Regions from separate parts of the Homo sapiens genome. Here regions 2, 3, 4, 5, 6 and 7 are each linked to region 1. Evidence: promoter capture Hi-C in 16 types of primary human blood cells and fetal thymus (Javierre and others, 2016). All regions are on one chromosome and are shown on one strand. The core of a region is centred on a gene start or on the middle of the fragment in contact, and the rest is flanking DNA. Distances in the headings are between cores, read along the strand shown. Region 1 holds the start of EXO5 (exonuclease 5). Region 2 overlaps LOC105378676 (a long non-coding RNA gene). Region 3 has its middle 24 kb from the start of PPT1. Region 4 overlaps RLF (RLF zinc finger). Region 5 overlaps PPT1 (palmitoyl-protein thioesterase 1). Region 6 overlaps PPT1 (palmitoyl-protein thioesterase 1). Region 7 overlaps LOC105378671 (a long non-coding RNA gene).

Region 1 (2,879 bases), core at 352-2,851:
TGTGTCCCAAATTGTAGTTTGTATGTCTGACACGAGACGATTTTACATAGCACATGGACCAACATTTTTAGATACACCTTAGAATAACTATACTGTTATTGGAGCAGCCATCAAATGGCTAATTTCACAGATATTGTTTCTTAGGACAAGTTTGATTTTTATAAAAAAAAAAAGTAAGTAAAAACATAGAATAATACAGGTAGTACACAGGTATGGCAAAATTGTTAGGTAGTAAGTGAATGGGATGCTGGGAAACAGCATAATGCCAAGAGTCTGGGAGTCCTACAGATATGGATTCTAAACCTAATCCTGAGTAGTTCGGTAGCATTTAGTAGTATGCTACTTGCCTTTTGAGTAAGCTTGGACAAGGTTCTAGTTTTCCTGAAGTTACTGACACATTTTTAAAATACCTACTAACCCTACTGAGATATCCGACCATTGAGTGATAACATATAGTACGCATATTAGCACTCGATGAAGATAGATCTCCTTCTTTTTCCCCAAGGAAGAGATGAGAGAGTGTATCGATTCCCCCTGACAAAGGAGATGAAACTTTAGAAGAGAAACTCCTATTCACCTGTGACTTCGTTGATCTTCCTCCTCATAGGGAAGGCCAGAATGCTGAAATGACAAGGCTAGGGAAGAGAAAGAAGTTCTGAAAGACCAGGTCTGCATTAAAGAACCTAAATTAGCAACTTAGGTCCTTGCTATGGTAGAACCGGAACTTCTGGTCCTTTCTTACCTGACCATTCCCTCACGTTGGGTGTTTTCTCCTCTCACATTGACACTGCACAGACTGTTACCCACCCCAGATCCTAGGTTACATAACGCTCGCCTCTCTCCTGGGGCAAACTCTCTCCATGATTTCTTCGTTCCCCCGTACTCTAGATGCAATGACTTGATCCAATCCCTGCTCCCTGAAAGTAAAAGGGTCAGACATAACCAAGATCCCCAAGGAGCTCCGAGATCAGTTCCCTCTTCCAGCTCCATTCTCAACCCAGCAGCTCAAGCAAGAGACCTTATGACAGCGGCTCTTTCTCTCAGATGGGTTACTGCCTTCTGCAGAATTGCCGATGGCAACATCCTGACTTGTTCAGTGCGGCCCGGACTTGTGGGCTCCGCGGGCGTTTGCCTTCAGGGAAGATCTTTCCTCTGGCCCTAAAGCACTGTCTCCCAGGGAGTGCCATGCATGCCCTAAAGTGTACTGAGCACTTCCTACAGTTCTGGCAGAGCCAGGAATAAGAACAGGGAGCCGTCCACCTCGGGAAGGAGTCCCGGCCAACAGCACTGTGTTCCGAGGGCGAAGGTCCAGAACGGGAACCCGGCCTGTGAGGGGAGACGAGACGAGCCGCTTCCCGGGAGCCGCGCCCACCAAGGGAGGGAGACGCGGCGATCGCAGGGACAGAACCCTAAGCTCCGAAACGCAGCCTCCCAGCCCATTCTCCGGCCTTCCCCTAACCTCTGATACTCCTCCGAACCTCGGACTCCACCTGGTTTCGCCGCGGCCTCGGAGCTGCTCCCGGACGCTCCCGGCGAGGAGACTGAGGAAGCCGGGCAGAGCGCGCTGCCGGAGCGGACTACACAGTCGGCCCGCCACTCGCAAAAAAGCCGCCCAGAGCCCAGTCCCAGAGTGCCCCGCGGCTGCCCACGGACCGCCTTCCCAGAGGCCCTCGCGGCGCCGCCTACCTCGCGAGGCTGCGGCTGGGGCAGAAATCCGTCTCTGTGAGCGGAGGAGGGTGTGCTTATGCGAGAGCAGGTTTTGGGAGCTCACTAAAGCAGGTCAGTCCCTCTGTTTGCGCCGTTGTCTGTGGGTCGTTTAATTCCGGGCGCAGCTGATCTGTAACTTCCCTCACTGGCGAGGTCTCCCAGTTACCACCGGGACAATCCGAGCAAGGTCTGGGCCCCTCGCTGCCCCCGGTGAAGTGCCGCGTCTCCGCTTGGCCATCCGTGGATTCAGCATCCCCACCTTAGCACCTCCCGCCGGCTTTTCCATTGAGAGCAAAACCACGAACTCACTTTTGAGAGATGCTGGCGCTCCCCTCATCAATATTTCTTTTTTTTTTTCTGTTTGCTTACTTTTAACTAACCTTTTATTGATAAATATAACACAATTTTATTCTGAAATATAAACCAAAGATAAGTATAATTATGAACAGCCAAGTCATTAGAGCGAAAAAAGAATAGTGTCAGGTTCTTCACAGATACACTTCCTGAGAAAACCACTAGCCCGACTTTTATAACACTTTGCTTTTCTTATTTATATTTATTTATTTATTTATTTTACCAAAAGCAGATACTTGACTCTTTGCTTTTCTTTACGGTTTATCACGCATACTTGAAAACTGGATTTATGACAAAGGTGGCATCATACAGCCATGGAGAAAAGATGGTCTATTCAGTGAAGGTTCTATGACAATATGAAGGCCGGGCACGGTGGCTCACGCCTGTAATCCCAGCACTTTGGGAGGCTGAGGTGGGCGGATCACGAGGTTAAGAGATCGAGACCATCCTGGCCAACATGGTGAAACCCTGTCTCTACTAAAAAGTACAAAAATTAGCTGGGTGTGGTGGCACACACCTGTAGTCCCAGCTATTCAGGAGGCTGAAGCAGGAGAATCGCTTGAACCGGGAGGCGGAGGTTGCAGTGAGCGGAGATCACACCACTGCACTTCAGCCTGGGCAACAGAGGGAGACTCCGTCTCAAAAAAAAAAACAAAACAGAAAACAGGACCTCTATCTCTCATTTCATCACAAAAATCAATTGTAGCTGGATTAAGACCTAAATGTGAAATCCTAAACTATAAAGTCTTCAGAATATAATATAGGAAAATATCTTTGGACTTCAGAATAGGTAAATATTTTAAAACAAAAATAGAAAA
Region 2 (3,372 bases), core at 298-2,797, 340 kb before region 1:
CAGCGGAGAAAGACCCAAGGGCAGAAGTAGGCGTCTGCTATTTATGCCTTCCAGGATTTAGTCACCCTTCTCCTGATAAAAGGTTTCCCAAAAATTCCTTTGGGAAACCACCTCTCCCTCGTTTATAGCCCACGTAGCTTGGGTAAGTTTTCTTGTTCCCCTGTATGTGATTCAAAATAAAATACTGCTTAGCTGTAAAATCAGTGTAAGGAAGCCCCAAATCTTTCCATGGCTATTTTGCAATAGCAATACTTTATCTTCTTCTCCTCCTCGTCCTCCCCTTTTTCTTCTTCGCATCAAAGTCTTTCAAATTTGCAGCTAGTACCTTAAACACATGAGCTGTCTGCTTGTTAGGTCATTCAGTACTGACTCATGATATCTCACCTGACTCGCTGTCATCTAAGCTAGCGCATTATTATTCCAGGTTATAGAGAGATGAGGGAACTGTGGCTTACAGAGACGAAATGACTTGCCTGCTTCCACACAGCTAGTAATTTATTGAGTTAAAATATTTAACATAATTGGGATGGTGCCTCGCACATAGTAAGAAATATTTAAGTGTTAGCTGCTACAACAAAGAGAACAAGAAAAGTGGATTTCATTTTGTTTTGTTTGAGACAGAGCCTCACTCTGGAGTGCAGTGGCACAATCACAGCTCACTGCAGCCTTGAATTCCTTGGGCTCAAGCAATCCTCCTGTTCCCAAGTAGCTGGGACTACAGGCGCACGCCACGCCATCCAGCTAATTTTTTAATTTTTGTAAAGATGGAGTCTCACTATGTTACCCAGCCCGATCTCAAACTCTTGGGCTCAAATGATCCCCCTGCCTGGGCCTCCCAAAGTGCTGGGATTACAGGCATGAGCCACCGTACCTGGCCCAGAAAGATGTTAAAGTGGCTTGCAGAGCAGAAAAGACTTCTTTCTGATTCCACTCCGTCATTCAGACCCAGATTGCTTGCTTCCTGTTGCTCTGCTTTTCATGACTCCAACCTCGTGGGCCAAGATGTCTCCTCAAAGTCCAAGTTGGCTTTCTTTCCTTTTCTATCTTTTTCTGCAGAGCGGAATCTGGGTCATGGACATCTTTGTGTCTGGCTCTCAGGAAGGTGAGACTGAGGAGGTGAGCACACCTGGTGTTCTAAGGCCCAGTGACTCATGTCACTTTTCAGATTTTCTTGACAAGAATTTAATTACATGAGCACACTTTGCAGTAAGGAAGGCTGGGAAATACGGTTTCTAGCTGGCGACAATGTGTTCATCAGTAACTTAATTACTCTGGAAGAGGGGAAATGGATTTTGGTAGACAACCAGCAGCCTCCACCACAGCCAAGTGACAGTAATAAGTGGCTCAGTTGAGATTAGAACTCAAGTCTCCTATGCCCCAGAGTACTTGGTACAGATGGGGAAGATATCAGAGGCCTGAGTCCTACATAAAGAGAATTGTTGCCTGGGCACAGTGGCTCACGCCTGTAATCCCAGCACTTTGGGAGGCCGAGGAAGGCAGATCACCTAAGGTCAGGAGTTCGAGGCCAGCCTGGCCAACATGGTGAAACCCTGTCTCTACTAGAAATACAAAAATTAGCCGGAATGGTGGCACGTAGTCCCAGTTACTCGGGAGGCTGAGGCTCGAGAATCACTTGAACCCGGGAGGCAGAGGTTGCAGTGAGCCGAGATCGCACCACTGCACTCCAACCTGGGTGACACAGCGAGACTCTGTCTCAAAGAAAAAAAAAAAGAACTGTTTAGATTTAGTAGACCTGGTAGCAGTCATCACTATGAATACTCATCTGTGGCAACTCACTTCCCTTCTTTGAGTCTCAGTTTCCTTGTCTGTAAAATGAGGATAGTAAGGGGCCTTACCCATGAGTTGCTGCTGTGAAAACACTGACCACAGTTCATAACACATACTAGGTACTTACACAGTGGGAAGGATGGGGTAGAATTTGAACATGAGCACGTGAAAGAAGGAAATTCCAAGGGAGGTGACAATGTGTGCAAATGCCGAGTGACATGAATGAATAAGACTTTACTAGGAAAGGCAACAAGTCCGGGGTGGTTAGTGTGTAGGGTGCATGGTCAGCGGGGGAAGGGTTGTGCTCGGAGTAGGCAAGGGTCAAAGAGGGGTGACCCTTAGTGGCAGGCTGAGGAGCTTGAACTTGATTCTGTTAGTAATGGGGAGTCACAGACGACATGAGCCGAGTGGAAACAGTTGGGTTTGTGTTTTGGAAAGGTCACTCTGGCTGTGGTGAGTAGAATGGATTTGAGAGGGGCAGGTGGGAGAAATGGAGAGCGCTGAGAAAGCATGAAATGCAATGTCTAGCATACATGAATATTCTTTTGAAGAATGAATGACTCTATCTCGATTACTTAGGATTATGCACGTGGCTTTGAGTGACAGAAAAACAGTAGCTTAAATAAAAAGAACCAGGTAGGTAGTCCAGAATGGGTGTAGTTATCCATAGTGTCAGCATCTAGGCCCCACCACCTTGTTGCTTTGTCATTTGTGGGTTAGACCTCATGATCCAAAAAGGCTGCTCGAGCTACCATATCAACATTCCAGCCAGAAAAAAAGAGAAAAGAGGAGTCGTGAACTTTCTGGAAGTTTTCTGCCCCTAACTACAAAAGAGGCTCAGAAATGTAGTCTTTATTCTGGGTGGCCATATGTGTAAGCAGAATTCAGAGGTTCTGCTACTGGGAAGAAGATGGGAATGGATCCTGCAGTCACGATAATGACCCACTGATGTGGAGGCTACAGGAAAGGAGTGGAAAATGATTCCCAGGGGTGTGGCTTGGGGCACAGAGTGACTCTTCCATGAGGTGAATCCTAGCAGGAAGAGCAGGCTGTAGGGAGCAGGATAGATTAGGATGGACACATCAGGCCATCCAAGGTGGACATCTAGGAGGAAGAGGGCCAGATAAATGGGTCTGGAGCTCAGGAATTAGGTCTGGACTGACAGTAACTTTGTTTGGGGGGGTATTAGCACATCCATTGTTGCCTTGGGAATGATGATGCCCAGTGATAAAAGAATGTGGCCAAGGACAGAACCTTGGATAGAGGCCGAGAATTAGCAGCTGGGGAAGTGGGAGAGAAACAGCAGAAAGGTGTCCTGAAAGCCCAGGGAGATGTTTCCCAAAGGAGGGCGTGGTCAGGGGTTCCTAATGCTGCTGAAAAGTCAGGTAAAGTGAGGACTAAAAAGAGGCTGTTCAATTGGGCAATCAGAAAGTCAAAATGACTTTGCCAGAGCAATTCCAGGGGAGTGGAGAGGCAGGAGACAGGATGCCATGGTCAGTGGGAAATGGGAAAAGAGGAAGTCAGGTCAACAAAGGTAGATGAATTGTTTAAAGGATCTTTTTGGACCTCAGTGTTTCCATGGGT
Region 3 (3,188 bases), core at 65-2,564, 390 kb after region 1:
GATTTATTGTCTCTAAATTGGGGGTCTTCTCAATCCAAGTTTGCCCTGTGAACATGTTGTGAAATTGTCATCTGAAGCAGGCCCCTCAAAGATGGTTGAGAAGCCTTGCATTTTCCTGAAGAGCAGAGGACACTGTTTATCTTGGCAGAATTCCAAGCCCAATCAGTAGATATGAAAAGCAAGAAGAAAGGAGCATGTGTTCAAAGTTTTTCTTATCAAGTCTTTAGAGTGCAGGCCCTGGGAAAAATGCTGCAGGTACATTAGGATGGAAAGACTATGTTGGGAGAAGGCCCTTGGCTAATGAGAACATAGGTCTGGTAGAATATTGAGGAGCCCTTTAAGGAGAAAACAATTAGCTTTTTCAAAGCTTTCCTTTTAGAGACCAACTCACTATTATTAGTAAATTAAGACATACTAAGAAATAGATTATTCAAGAAAAAGGACTTCAGCCACAGAAGTAAAATGGGCAGAGTTAGAGCAAGAGGGAGCAAATATTCAATAGGAAGCAAAGAGTAAACAATACATGCATTCGTTGCTAGTAATAAGGTAAAAAATGCAAGAGAAAGCACATTAAGGGTTCTATTTGACCTTTCTCAAATAAAGAAAACTGTATTTAAAATAGTAGCCCCCATTTCTGATGAGATTGTGATAAAATTGAGGTGAGGATAGGAATGAAAATAGGAATACCATTTGGGAAAACAAAATAGCCATAATTAGCAAAAGGCTTTTATTGAGTGTATAGTTCAATGACTTTTAATATATTTGCAGAGTTGTACAACCATTACCACAATCTAGAAACAGTCTTGAAAATATTAATATCCTTGAAATTACTCCTGGATCAAGAATTAATAATAACAGCAGTTGTTATTCTGTATAGAGTACTAACTCAGAACCAAGCACTTTACATGTAATTTATTCATTTCAATTCTCACAACAATCCTATGAGGAAGGTGTTATTAGTGACCCTTCTTGATAAATGAAATACTGAGATATAGAGAAGTTAAGAAATTTGCCCAAACTACCATGGATAGTGTTAAAAACCAGATCATCTCTTTCCAGAACCTATACACATAAGCAACTACTACACTATAAGGAAATAATACAACAAAAGTAAAAAGCTCCATGCAGGAAGAGTTAATTACAGAATTCTGTAAGATCCAATAATGGGCATAAGTTAAATGGTCTACAATCCACAAAGAATAGGTTTAGTAGATTTTGGTGTGTCTGCTACTCAGCCATAAAAAGGAAAATAGTAGACCCTGTACAAATAAGGAAAATATTTATGATATTCAATAGCACAGTATAGTAGTTGTTGGATGAATGAATAAGCCAGCATAGCCCCTGCCTTCTTCAATATCAGTCCTTCACAAATGATCTTCAATTGCTATATACCCAGGGCCAAACCCAGTGTCTTCAATGCACGGGGCTCTCCAAGTGGCTGTGGGGTGGTAAGATCTCTTCACTGGGTGAGCCACAGGAAATGACTCCAATAGTCAGGTTCCTTCTGAGCTAAGACCTGGCTGGGCATTGGAGATGTTCTCCAAGGACAAAGGTATTTGTTTTTGTTTTTGTTTTTGTTTTTTGAGATGGAGTCTGTGTCGCACAGGCTAGAATGCAATGGCGCAATCTTGGCTCACTGCAACCTCAACCTCCTGAGTTCAAGCAATTCTCCTGCCTCAGAGTAGCTGAGATTACAGGCACGCGCCACCACGCCTGGCTAATTTTTGTATTTTTAGTAGAGACAGAGTTTCACCATGTTGGCCAGGCTGGTCTCAAACTCCTGACCTCAAATGATCCGCCTGCCTTGGCCTCCCAAAGTGCTGGGATTACAGGCATGAGCCACCGTGCCCAGCCCCCAAGGACAAAGTTTTGATGGTGTCCTCTGTGTCTGCAAAATATTGAAAAGACACCTGCATGTGAACAAAATCTGGAAGACAGTATGCAAAAAATTAAAACAGTTGCAATGTTTGCTGGAAGAATTGTAGGAGGTTACTTACTTTTAAAATTTTTTCTGCAATGTTGTTACACTATCTTTTTCAGCAATGTTTTGAAGAAAAGGGATCTCCTTGATCTTCATCTTGATGTTCCTAAGACAAAAGCCAAATCAATGAATGACTCATTGCTGGCCACATCTGACCCAAATGTTAGACACTGACAAGACTCCATCCTCCAAAGAATATCTTGGTTAGAAGTATTTAATTGTTCTAGGTTCTGGAGATATGGCAAAGCATAAGATTGAATCCCTGCTCTCTCAAAGCTTACATACTAGAACTGTGTTGTCCAGTACAGTAGCCACTGGCCACATGTGGCTATCTAAATTTAAATCAGTTAAAATTAAATTAAATTAAATTAAAAATTCTTTTACTCATTCACACTAGCCACATGTCAAGTGCATAGGAGTCATATGGTAACTAGTGGCTACTATATTGGACAGCTCAAATATAACAATACTTCCATCATTGCAGAAAATTCTACTGGTTAGTCCTCCTTTAGACAGAAGAGTTTGATAATAATCAAGTAAACAAAAATGGACAAGAGTAAACATTGCTCTGAAGAAAATAAAAAACAGTGCTGCCTTGTATTGTAGACTGATGGTCTTGGGAAGGCATCTCCGAGGGACTCCCATTTGAGCTGAAAAACTAATGACAAGAATGAGCCAGTCATGCAAAGATTTGGGTACAGAATGTCTCAGGAAGAAGGTGAGGCAACTGTAAATGCCATTGAGGTAGGATGTGAAACTCATCTCCAGAGGCAGGGCTTGAACCTCGGACCAGATAGAGAAATAGCTAAAACAGGGAAAAGTCCAAAGCACCTCTCTGTAAGACACTCCCACTAGTGTGCCATGTCAGTTTACCATTTCCATGGCAACGCCCGAAGTTACTGCTCTTTCTTTTCTTTCTTTTTTCTTTCCTTTTTTTTTTTTGAGATGGAGTCTCGCTCTGTCACCCCGGCTGGAGTGCAGTGGCACAATCTTGGCTCACTGTAACCTCCTCTTCCCGGGTTCAAATGATTCTCCTGCCTCACCGTCCTGAGTAGCTGAGACTACAGGCATGTGCCACCATGCCTGGCTAATTTTTGTATTTTTAGTAGAGACGGGGTTTCACCATATTGGGCAGGCTGGTCTTGAACTCCTGACCTTGTGATCTGCCTGCCTCAGCCTCCCAAAGTGCTGGGATTACAGGTGTGAG
Region 4 (3,232 bases), core at 495-2,994, 320 kb after region 1:
CTGACCCCTAAGCAATCCTGCTTCCCAGCTGAATTAGTAGAGAAAGAATGCAGAATGGGTGTCTGTTACATAACTAAGATTTCACCTAATTTATTAAAATCAGCCAGGTGCTGTGGCTCACGCCTGTAATCCCAGCACTTTGGGAGGCCGAGGCGGACGGATCACAAAGTCAAGAGATCGAGACCATCCTGGCCAACATGGGTGAAACCCCGTCTCTAAAAATACAAATATTAGAGATGGGCGTGGTGGCGCGCGCTTGTAGTCCCAGCTGCTCAGGAGGCTGAGGCAGGAAAATCGCTTGAACCTGGGAGGCGGAGGTTGCAGTGAGCCAAGATTGCGCCACTGCACTCCAGCCTGGCGACACAGCAAGACTGTCTCAAAAAAAAAAACCAAAAAACAAAAAACAAAGAAATTTATTAAAATCTATGTTACAAAAAAATTCTGGTTTAGGTCAGTAAGTTACTTACTGTCTGCATTGGCTAATCTAAGAATTAAGGAGTTTCAAAAATTTATATTTAGTGCCAGATTTATGTTCCTTAAAGTCAGACATTATGTCTCATCAATCCTTATAGGCCTACCACTCCTCTACCCACTTCCACCCCCACAGGACATTCTCAAGTCTCACTAAATGTCTGCTGAATACATTCACCATTTTATTCATTTGACAAATATTTTTCAATAGATTATCACACATAAAGTGCTAGATGCAGTGGGGGCGGGCAGACATGTGGCCTATCCTCACAGAGCTTTCAGAATGAGTCAATACAACATGATGGCTGAAACCACACATGCAAATTAACCAACTGCTAACTAAAGTATGCAAAGAGAAGGACAGAGTGCATACAGATGGGGTTAGTCTTTCCACAATCCACCTGTCCACTTAGAACGCTCTTGCCACCAATCTAATAGCTTCTGACAGACATTCCACCAGGACTTCTGTAAGCTACACAATTTCAAAGATTCAATACTCTTGAGGAACTTCCAGTTTGCTCTATACTAATTTATACTTTTTATATTCCTAAATCTTTACCCCCTCATGTGTTGGTTCAAATTAAGTAGTGAGATCTCTTATACCCACTATAAGCATACTCTGGGTATGTGAAGAATGGCTGGAATAATCAATCTTCTTCATTATCACTTTTTTTTTAAATTGAGATAGAGTCTCATTCTATCACTGCTGGTGATCCTCCCACTTCAGCCTCCCAAGTAGCTGGGACTACAGGCATGAACCACTGTGGCTAGCCAGGCATTTTCTTTCTTTCTTTTTGTTTTTTTAATCAAGTCTCACTCTGTCACCCAGGTTGGGGTGCGGTGGTGAAATCTCGGCTCACTGCAACCTTCACCTCCCAGATTCAAGTGGATCCTTTCACCTCAGGCTCCTGAGTAGCTGGGATTACAACTGTGCGCCACCAGGCTCGGTTAATTTTCCTGTTTTTAGTAGAGATGGGGTTTCACCATTTTGGCCAGGCTGGTCTCGAACTCTTGACCTCAAGTGATCCGCCTGCCTTGGCCTCCCCAAGTGCTGGGATTACAGGCAAAAGCCACCTCGCATCCAGCCTTTGTGGTTTTTTTTTTTTTTTTTTTTTTGCTTTTTTTTTTTTTTTGAGACAGTCTCACTCTGTCAGCCCAGGCTAGAGTGCAGTGGCACGATCTTGGCTCACTGCAAGCTCCACCTCCCAGGTTCACGCCATTCTCCTGCCTCAGCCTCCCAAGTAGCTGGGACTACAGGCACCCGCCACCATGCCCGGCTAATTTTTTTTTTTTTTTTTTTTTTGTATTTTTAGTAGAGACGGGGTTTCACCGTGTTAGCCAGGATGGTCTCGAGCTCCTGACCTCGTGACCTGCCCGCCTCGGCCTCCCAAAGTGCTGGGAGCCACTGCGCCCGGCTTTTTTTTTTTTTTTTTTTTTTTTTTAATGCAAGATTAGGTTGAAAGGATTACAGCCATCCAAATAACAGGATGGCTGTAATCCTTTCAACCTAATCTTGCATTTAAAAAACTGGACTAGGCAAGGTGGCTCACGCCTGTAATCCCAGCACTTTGGGAGGCCGAGGCAGGTGTATCACTTGAGGTCAGGAGTTCAGACCAGCCTGGCCAACATGGTGAAACCCTGTCTCTACTAAAAATACAGAAAGTAGCCGGGCGTGGTGGCGCATGCCTCTAGTCCCAGCTACTTGGGAGGCTGAGGCTGGAGAATTGCTTGAACCCGGCTAGAGTTCAGTGGTTCAATCACAGCTCACTATAACCTCAAACTCCTAGGCTCAAGTGATCCTCTCTCCCACCCACCTCAGCCTCCTGAGTAGCTAGGACTGGAGAAGTGCATCACCATGCCCAGCCAATTAAAAAAAACTTTTTTTTTGTAGGGACAGGGTCTCTTTGCTGCCCAGTCTGGTCTCAAATTCCTGGGCCTCAAGTGGTCCTCCCACCTTGGCCTCTCAAAGTGCTGGGATTACAGGTGTGAGCCACTGTACCCAGCCACGGTCTCTTATTTTTCTTTAGGAACTGAAATCACAACTGAAGAGAAAAGGGGCAATAAATGATAAAGATGACCTCCTAAAGTTCATTCTACAGTGACCAAATTAATGACCTCTCTCTTTTGTTTCAGTAAACTCATTCCACAAATACCTACTATTTTGTACTGTGCTGGGAAGTAAGGATGGAGACTCTATTCCTGCCCTTGAAAGGCTATGATATATACTAAGGGGTCAGATATATAAGTAAAAAATTAGCTCACTTACGCACCATATTTGACTATTCGGTGCTCTCATTCACATCCCAAGCAGATTACCCTCAAATTACTCTCTCAAGTCCTTGCTATATACCTCAACTGCCTATTACATATTTCCATCTGGATGTCCTATTCAAATCTCAAACTCAGCATGTCCAAAACCAAACATCTTCCCCAGCAAATATGCTCTTCCTCCTATGTTCCATCTGCCTCCTTTCAGGAGCCAGAGCTAAAAAACTATCTTTGAAACCACCACACCAAAGTTTGTTGATTCTATCTCAGAAATATCTTTGTCTCCTGTCCCTATGCTTTATCTCTGTAGCCATTCACCTAAACCAGGCCCCCAATATCCCTCATCTAGACTGCTACATTGGTTCACTTCTCTAGGCTAAATAACCTCTAGTTCTGTATATGTGTTATAATCACGTATGTCTGTACATTGAAAAAATTAATGTCCAAGGGGAAAATGACTAGAAGAAATTAACTAAAATGCTTACATGGTTAG
Region 5 (2,736 bases), core at 237-2,736, 420 kb after region 1:
TGGTCCCTGGTGCCAAAAAGGTTGAAGACCGCTGTCCTAGATGCTTAATTTGCCTCACCCTAGTCCTGGCCCTGAAGAGAAAACTTTGCATCTGTTCACCCCAAATATCCCCTGTGATAGGGGAAGGGAATGTGTACCTCTGCTTATTTTTCATTTGTAAATTTGGTGTCTTAATTATCCTATATGGGCTTTTTGGTTTTTTTGAGACAGGGTCTCGTTATGTTGCCCAAACTGGTCTCGAACTCTTGGCCTCAAGCAATCCTCCTGCCTCGTCTTACCAAAGCGCTGGGATGATAGGTATGAGCCCATGCTTGGCCTATATGGATTTTTTTTTTTTTTTTTTTTTGAGATGGAGCCTTGTTCTGTTGCCCAGGCTGGAGTGCAGTGGCATGATCTTGGCTCACTGAAACCTCCACCTTTCAGTTTCAAGCGATTCTCCTGCCTCAGCCCCCCAAGTAGCGGGACTACAGACATGTGCCACCACACCCGGCTAATTTTTGTATATTTAGTAGAGATGGGGTTTCACCATGTTGCCCAGGCTGGTCTCGAGCTCCTGACCTTGTGATCCACCCACCTCGGCCTCCCAAACTGCTGGGATTACAGACGTGAGCCATGACACCCAGCTCCTGTATGGACTTTTGAAGCTTGTTATTACTTGATAAACAGGAGCTAAGCAAAAAATGTTCTTTCTTCTGTTTTTTAAAATTGAGGTAAAAATTCATGTAAAGTTAACCATTTAAAATGGTACGATTCAGTGGCATTTAGTGTATTTGCAATGTTGTGCAACTAACACTTCTTTTTCAACACCCCAGAAAAACACACATAGCCATTAAGCAATCACTCCCTATTGCCCCCTCCTACTACTTCTTGATAATCTCCAGCTTAGTTTTCTGTATCTCAGTGGATTTGCCTGTTCTTTATTTATCCTATGAAAGGAATCATGCATTATGTGGCTTTTTGAGTCTGGCTTCTTTCACTTAGTATAATGTTTCTGAGGTTCATTCAAGTTGTAACATGTGTCAGCACTTTGTTCCTTTTTTATAACTCAGTAATATTCCATTGTGTGAATATACCACATTTTATTCATTCATTCATTGATGGACTGCTGGATTGTTTCTCCCTTTTGACTATTACAAACACTGCTGCTGTTAACATCTATATGCAAGTTTCTGCATGGACGTGTGTTTTTATTTCTTTGGGGTGTATAACTAGGAGTTGAATTGCTGAGTCATTTAGTAATCGTATGTTTAACTTTTTGAGAAACCACCAAACTGTTTTTCACAGTGGCTGCTTATTACATTCCCACCAGCAATGTCCAAGGGGTCCCATTTTTCTACATCGTTGACAATACTTGTTATTTTCTATTAAAAAATTATTATTAAAGACATCCTAGTCTGTGTGAAATGGTATCTCATCGTGGTTTTGGTTTGCATTTCACATGCCAGTGGTTAGCCATTTGTATATCTTCTTTGGAAAAATATCTGTTTAATTTCTTTTCCCATTTTTAAATTAGGTTATCTTTTTGTTGAGTTGTAAGTGAGTTATAGATTCCTTGTATATTCTGGATATTAAGCCCTTATCAGATAACTGTTTTGCAAATATTTTCTTCCATTCTATACATTGTTTTCACATCCTTGATAATGCTGTTTGAGGCCTCAGAGTTTTTAAACAATAAACAATATTTGGACTCATGAGTTTCCATCATTGTGTTTTGTTGGCTAGGAGACAGCTGTTGCAATCCCTTAAGCATGGGTGCTATTAAAAAAATGGTGGAGAAGAAAATACCTGGAATTTACGTCTTATCTTTAGAGATTGGGAAGACCCTGATGGAGGTAAGGCGCTTCACAGCTGTTCCTTTGAAGGGTTGCTGACTGATTTCATAGCATATACTGTTAAAATGCTTTGCCTTGTGTTTTCAGCAGCAGATCATACAGTGATACTTTCACCCTTGAGTGGCTCATGTGAGGATACCAACCTAAATGAGTTTACCTCTTAGAGAAGATGTCAGTGGTTGTTTTCAGTCCCATCCTCTCACTTCTCTCTGGCTTCTTTTTTAGGACGTGGAGAACAGCTTCTTCTTGAATGTCAATTCCCAAGTAACAACAGTGTGTCAGGCACTTGCTAAGGATCCTAAATTGCAGCAAGGCTACAATGCTATGGGATTCTCCCAGGGAGGCCAATTTCTGTACGTTCCTTTTTGTTATATTGTACCACTTATATGGAATTGATTTTTGTTTCTTTTATTCAGATAAATCCACTCCTCCAATTCAAGATTGTCACCTATCTTGGAAGGGAAATTTCCTAAAATGTTCCTGTGTAAGAAGCTTTATGGAACTTAATTTCTTTTCTTTTTTTTTTTTTTTTGAGACAGAATTTCTCTCTTGTTGCCCAGGCTGGAGTGCAGTGGCGCGATCTCAGCTCACTGCAACCTCCACGTCCCAGGTTCAAGTGATTCTCCTGCCTCAGCCTCCCGAGTAGCTGGGACTATAGGTGCTCACCACCACACCTAGCTAATTTTTTGTATTTTTAGTAGAGATGGGGTTTTACCATGTTGTCTAGGCTGGTCTCGAACTCCTGACCTCAGGTAGTCCACCCACCTCAGCCTCCCAAAGTGCTGAGATTACAGGTGTGAGCCACCATGCCTGGCTGGAGCTTAATTTATTTTCTATGAAAGTTGAAAGAAATATTTGCATTTGCCCATATCAGGAAAATCCTGAAACTCTGCGGGTTTGGGGA
Region 6 (2,500 bases), core at 1-2,500, 430 kb after region 1:
ATATGGGTGAAGCTTGTTAGGCTCTTGATTATGTGCTCTAGCTTATTAGGCACTGGGTTACAAAAATCCACTACATCCTGAAACCTTATGGTTTCCAAACAACAAGAGAAACCTCATGTCTGATTCCCTTCTTTTGATAAAAAGGTTTTAAAACTAGCTGCCTTGGCTGAGGTACAGTCTGCTACAAATCCAGGAAGCCTCCATGCATGATGAGGGGCATTCCTTTTTTTTTCTTTGAGACGGGGTCTCGCTCTGTCACCCAGGCTGGAGTGCAGTGGAGCAATCTTGGCTCACTGCAACCCCTGCCTCCCAGATTCAAGCAATTCTCCTGCCTCAGCCCCCTTAGTAGCTGGGATTACAGGTGTGTGCCATCACACCTGGCTAATTTTTGTATTTTTAGGAGAGATGGAGTTTCACCATGTTGGCCAGGCTGGTCTTGAACTCCTGACCTCAGGTGATCCACCCACCTCAGCCTCCCAAAGTGCTGGGATTACAGGCGTGAGCCAGTGCGCCTGGCCAAGGGACATTACTTTTAAACATTAATAGATGTGAAATCCTGTTTCTAAATTACGCACTGACAAGGGAGGCTCCTGCAGGAGGTTGAGTGGGACTAGAGTTTTGAATTTTGTTTAGCAGTAGGTCCTGTATCTTAAGCAGAAGTTGCAGTAATTTGCCACCTCCAGTTCTGGGGCCTTCTACACTTTAAGGATTTTTTTTTTTTTTTTTTTTTTTTTTTTTTTTTGAGACAGTCTTGCTTTGTCACCCAGGCTGGAGTGCAATGGTGTGATCTCAGCTCACTGCAGCCTCCACCTCCTGGGTTCAAGCGATTATCCTGCCTCAGCCTCACTAGTAGCTGGGATTACAGGCACACGCCACCATGCCTAATACTTTGTTTTGTTAGTAGAGACGGGGTTTCACCATGTTGGCCAGGCTGGTCTTCAACTCCTGACCTCAGGTGATCCACCTGCCTCAGCCTTCAAGAGTGCTGGGATTACAGGTGTGAGCCACCACGCCCAGCCCTAAGGATTTTATATTGGAGACAGACTCTCCAAAATGCTAAGTACTACATCTGAACCAATCACCGTCTACTAGAATTCCTCCATGTTATTTCAGAGGTCATTTGTCTCCTCTTGGCTTGGCTTTTCTTTTGCACTGGGTGCCTCAACTTGGGTGGTGAGGTAAAAAGGGAAGCTAGAATCTGATTTGAGAAAAAAAAAAAAAAAGGCTTGAGAAATTACAGCTAAGAACTTCCTTACTGTGAAAACTCAAAATGATGTTGGCCACGGCAGAAGCACCATTCTGGCACTGTCGTAACTGCTTATCTTCCCAACCAGAGGTTGTTCTCCAGCATCTAGGCTATGGGTAATGACATTTTCAACTCCAGAATATGAAAGTGTCCAGGGTTTGTTACCTAACGGTTGGATATGGTTTTTCTGTTTTGTTCTTTTGAGACAGTTTTGCTCATTGCCCAGGCTGGAGTGCAATGGCATGATCTCAGCTCACTGCAACCTCCGCCTCCCGGGTTCAAGCGAATTCTCCTGTCTCAGCCTCCCAAGTAGCTAGGATTACAGGTGCCCGCCACCATGCCCAGCTAATTTTTGTATTTTTAGTAGAGACAAAGTGTCATCATATTGGTCAGGCTGGTCTTGAACTCCTGACCACAGGTGATCCGCCTGCCTTGGCCATCCAAAGTGCTGGGATTATAGGCGTGAGCCACCGCGCCTGTCCTGGGTTGGATGTTTTTTAAGTTACCTAGCTAATGTTCTGTCTTTGGCTCAGTCCCACTTACCTATGGCATTCTGAGGCAGTGTCGTCTATGGCTTGCCCACCTATAGGTAGTCCTCTGACTCTGAGCTTTTCAAAAATCAGAATCTAGAACACTGTATAGAGCAATCTCAATTGCATATCTATTTTTAATACTTAGAAAAAACTGGCCGGGTGTGGTGGCTCACGCCTGTAATCCCAGCACTTTGGGAGGCCGAGGCACGTGGATCACCTGAGGTCAGGAGATCAAGACCATCCTAGCTAACACAGTGAAACCCCATCTCTACTAAAAATACAAGAAATTACCCAGGCATGGTGGCATGCGCCTGTAATTCCAGCTACTCATGAGGCAGAGGCAGGAGAATCGCTTGAGCCAGAGAAGTGGAGGTTGCAGTGAGCCGAGATCGCACCACTGCACTCCAGCCTAAGCAACCGAGCAAGACTCCGTCTTGAAAGAAAGAAAGAGAAAGAGAGACAGAGAGAGAGAGAGGAAGAAGAAGAAGAAGCGGGGGGGACAGGAGGAGGGGGAGGAGAGAAGAAAGAAAAGAAAGGAAGAAAGAGAAAGAAAGAAAAAGAAAAAAGAGAAAGAAAAAGAAGTAGGAGATATTCTTTTTGGCATTTTTGAAAATACACCTCAATTTTAATACTCAGGACAAACTGCATTTTGAAAATATATCTCAAGTTAACGTACTTACCATTTTACTCCAAAACTTCATTAAGCTTTTTAATTAATTAT
Region 7 (3,120 bases), core at 161-2,660, 360 kb after region 1:
AGACTTTTTAAAGCATATGGTATTTAAATGGGTATTTAAATAAGATCCACTGGGGAGAGTATAAACTAAGGGTCATAAATTTATATTCCTACTAGCCTTTGTCAGCTCACCTAAATGAATGACACAGGCTGGGTATAAGATGTTTGGAAAGAATGAGTTGATTAAGAAATGACCCAAGAAGCAGGTACTCAGCTCCAGAAAATTATTGCCATATGAGAATACAGAACTCATTTTACTAGGTCTGCTAATTCTCCAAGATAAATTGGAAGTTCAGTTTTGGTTTTGTTGTTGTCGTTTTTCTTTTATTTGATTTTGTTTTTTAACACGATTTCCTATTTTGAAAACTGCAGGCCAAATAATACCCACCTGTGAGTCCAGTGTGACTGATGAGCCAACGGTCTGCAACCTCAAAACAGAAAGAAGGAGGAGGGTCCAAGATCTTGCCAACACTAAGATGTCAGAGGAGTAGGATCCAGCCATCAAAGAATGTTCAGAACCCACTGAACAGACAGAGGGAAAACCAAGAGTGTGATATTCCTCAAGACAAAAGAAGAAAGCGGCAGGAAGAAGCTGAATGGTCAGCTTTGTAGGCTGCTGACAAGAGTTTGGGTAAGGTGAGGACACACAAATGTCCATTTGATGTGACATCATGAGTATTGGTTGGTAACCTCAACTAGAGAAGTTTCTGTAGATCTCTGGTATGGAATCCTGTCTGAAGAAGATTGAAGAATTAATGTGAGATATGAAAGTAAAAAGAGCAGGGCAATTACCCTCTTCAGAAGTTTTTCTGAGAAAGAGGAGAATAAAACCGGGGCTGTGCTATTAAGGGGATATGAGGTTTTGGAAGGAATTCTTAAAGATAAGTTTATTAGTATGTTCTCATGCCTGTAATAAAGACATAACCGAGACTGGGTAATTCATAAAGGAAAGAGGTTTAATTGACTCATACTTCCACACGGCTGGAGAAGCCTCACAATCACAGCAGAAGGCCAAAAAGAAACAAAGTCGTGTCTTACATGGTGGCAGGCAGAGAGTTTGTGTAGGGGAGCACCCCTTTATAAAACCATCAGATCCTGTGAGACTTACTCACTATCATGAGAGCAGCACAGGAAAGATCTGCCCCCATGATTCAGTTACCTCCCACAGGTACCTCCCACAACGCGTGGGAATTACAATTCAAGATGAGATTTGGGTGGGGACACAGCCAAACCATGTCAACAGGAGATTCTAGAGCATGGTTGCATGTGTATGGAAATGATACAGGAAAATAGGAGAAAATTTAATGTAGAAAACAGGGTGGGGGGATTGCAGGAGAAAAGTCCTTGAGAAGGCAAGAGGGCATGGCATCCAGAATACAAGAAGTTTGATCTGCAATAGAAATTAGATATGTATTTTTATTTCAAAAGGAGGGAATCTGGAGAGTATGGGTACAGATGCAAGTAGGTGTATAGATTTGGCAGTGGGAGATTTGGGAGTCATTGCCTGAGTGCTTCTTTTTGCTCCATGACTTGTGAGAGAAAGCTGAGGTGGTAGAGAAAGGCAATGTTGAGCCTTTGAGGAGACAGTAAAAACTTTGTTAGAGTTGTTTTAGAGTGAGAAAAAAAGAATGCATTCTAGATATGTGCAGGAAGATTGCAGGACAGTGTTGAGTGGCATCATTCATTTACTCAACAAATATTCACTGAAAGTCTACCATGTTTCAGGTACTGTCCTAGAGGCTAAAAATACATCATGAAAAAAAACAAGTCCTGGGTTTTATATTCTTTTCTCCCTCAGAAGTTATAATACAGTTAATTTAATTGCAACTTTCTTTATCATATTCCAGTTCTATGGATACTCCCAGGTCCCCCCCATACCCCCCAACCCAACCACCGGCTTGAGTGAACCTAGATATCTCTCAATACATCATGAGTAAGACACAAACGATGAGTTAGAGTGGTTACATTTTTAAGATCCATCTGTTTAGATTCATGGAACATTGTGGACAACTACTATGGTCAAGGTAAATTTTTCTCATTATGGGTAAAACCCAGAGGGCTCTAGGGTCAGGTTTGTCAGGTTTGGATCCCAGCTCCGACTGCTTATTCGTTGTGTGCCTTTAGATCATTTAATTTCATTGAGCCTTGGGTTCCTCATCTTAAGGTGGACATTGTAACAGCATGTGTCTCATAATTCTCATAGTTGTGGGTCCTAATGAGATTTATCCAAAGAGCGGAGAATGAGGCCAGATGCACAGTAAGCACTCAGTGTCACTAGTATTACTCCTATAAGGTTCAGCTTCAGAGGATAACTTTAGTTTCCTTTACTGTAGTCCCTCCACACCTACTGACCATGGATGCCATCTATTTTCACGACTTTGTCCTGTGAGTGACAAAATGATCAAGAGGACAGACCCATACTGTGGATCATCAAAGGAGCTGATTGATTAGGCTAGGATTTCTGATTTGCAAATTCAATAACTTGATTCTATCATTTCACCTAGGTTGTGATTAAGGCACAAGAGCCCAAATTACTAATTTACCTTAAGAAATATAATGGTATCTCTACAGAAAAGTCAGCTTGGGAAGCAAAATTAACACCGGAAGTTTGCTTAGGGAGGGTACAATTGGTGTAAAGGGAATGAGAAGATCTTAAACCACCATTGTTCCAACACCCTAGCTTCTCCCACGGTTATTTTTTATCCTTTCTTTCTCTACCCCCCAAATCTAATCAGGTTAGATTCTAAGTCCTATTAATTTGTGCTCAGGAAACTTTCTCCCATATTTTCTCTTACCCATTTCTACTTCTCCATGCCTGGGGAATGAGAGTATATAGATAACACAAAATAATGTCCTCTAAAGGTCTTCAAATGAGAAGCATTTGAAGAGTGAGAGTGGCTTCCAGGTGAGGGAGAGGATGTGCTTCAGAAGCTGATTTTGATTATCATTTCCCATGGCTGGACTTGCTGCCATCACCTCCCTGGGACCCTGGGAACATTTTGTTCCTTTCCCAGGGGCTCAGCATTCCCTTCTGGGAGGCTTTGTTGCTCCCATTTTGATGAAGGGTTAGGGGCCCAAAGGTAGAGAACCCCCAAAGGAGATGGGAATCCAAAAATCTCACAGATGCTATTTCAGACTTTCC

Evidence for each region. Contacts are between HindIII fragments. The CHiCAGO score rates a contact against its expected background, and 5 or more counts as called.
Region 2: a fragment that was not itself captured here is called in contact with the fragment with the promoter of EXO5 in region 1 in 1 of 17 cell types (fetal thymus); the score reaches 5.6 in fetal thymus.
Region 3: a fragment that was not itself captured here is called in contact with the fragment with the promoter of EXO5 in region 1 in 8 of 17 cell types (naive CD4 T cells, naive CD8 T cells, naive B cells and 5 more); the score reaches 9.2 in naive CD4 T cells.
Region 4: a contact is called between a fragment that was not itself captured here and the fragment with the promoter of EXO5 in region 1, in 5 of 17 cell types (naive CD8 T cells, naive CD4 T cells, total CD4 T cells and 2 more). The highest score is 6.8, in naive CD8 T cells.
Region 5: a contact is called between a fragment that was not itself captured here and the fragment with the promoter of EXO5 in region 1, in 8 of 17 cell types (total B cells, total CD4 T cells, naive B cells and 5 more). The highest score is 9.0, in total B cells.
Region 6: a fragment that was not itself captured here is called in contact with the fragment with the promoter of EXO5 in region 1 in 4 of 17 cell types (naive CD8 T cells, non-activated CD4 T cells, total CD4 T cells and 1 more); the score reaches 7.3 in naive CD8 T cells.
Region 7: a contact is called between a fragment that was not itself captured here and the fragment with the promoter of EXO5 in region 1, in 2 of 17 cell types (naive CD8 T cells and activated CD4 T cells). The highest score is 6.3, in naive CD8 T cells.

Annotation. Positions count from the first base shown.
Region 1 is chr1:40,507,489-40,510,367 of GRCh38, reverse strand. It overlaps EXO5 (exonuclease 5), which reads right to left and starts at 1,601. Exons shown (of 4, transcript NM_001346953.2): 1 at 1,460-1,601; 2 at 743-917; 3 at 578-635. It overlaps EXO5-DT (EXO5 divergent transcript), which reads left to right and starts at 1,673. Exons shown (of 2, transcript NR_187365.1): 1 at 1,673-1,779. RefSeq lists enhancers at 1,195-1,284, 1,315-1,564. The HindIII fragment of the contact is 5,200 bases long and covers 362-2,879 here.
Region 2 is chr1:40,850,322-40,853,693 of GRCh38, reverse strand. All of the region lies in intron 1 of LOC105378676 (a long non-coding RNA gene), which reads left to right. Among named protein-coding and RNA genes, the nearest start is that of CITED4, 10 kb to the left of the region's middle. RefSeq lists an enhancer at 1,606-1,695. The HindIII fragment of the contact is 4,104 bases long and covers 1-3,372 here.
Region 3 is chr1:40,120,005-40,123,192 of GRCh38, reverse strand. No RefSeq gene overlaps it. Among named protein-coding and RNA genes, the nearest start is that of PPT1, 24 kb to the right of the region's middle. The HindIII fragment of the contact is 1,890 bases long and covers 370-2,259 here.
Region 4 is chr1:40,184,199-40,187,430 of GRCh38, reverse strand. All of the region lies in intron 1 of RLF (RLF zinc finger), which reads right to left. Among named protein-coding and RNA genes, the nearest start is that of RLF, 24 kb to the right of the region's middle. RefSeq lists a silencer at 696-885. The HindIII fragment of the contact is 6,433 bases long and covers 1-3,232 here.
Region 5 is chr1:40,091,494-40,094,229 of GRCh38, reverse strand. It overlaps PPT1 (palmitoyl-protein thioesterase 1), which reads left to right. Exons shown (of 9, transcript NM_000310.4): 2 at 1,723-1,832; 3 at 2,058-2,185. Among named protein-coding and RNA genes, the nearest start is that of PPT1, 4.4 kb to the left of the region's middle. The HindIII fragment of the contact is 1,680 bases long and covers 647-2,326 here.
Region 6 is chr1:40,074,201-40,076,700 of GRCh38, reverse strand. The region is part of intron 8 of PPT1 (palmitoyl-protein thioesterase 1); the gene reads left to right. Among named protein-coding and RNA genes, the nearest start is that of PPT1, 22 kb to the left of the region's middle. The HindIII fragment of the contact is 2,472 bases long and covers 15-2,486 here.
Region 7 is chr1:40,145,482-40,148,601 of GRCh38, reverse strand. LOC105378671 (a long non-coding RNA gene) reads left to right here. Exons shown (of 3, transcript XR_947232.3): 3 at 351-901. Among named protein-coding and RNA genes, the nearest start is that of RLF, 14 kb to the left of the region's middle. The HindIII fragment of the contact is 9,755 bases long and covers 1-3,120 here.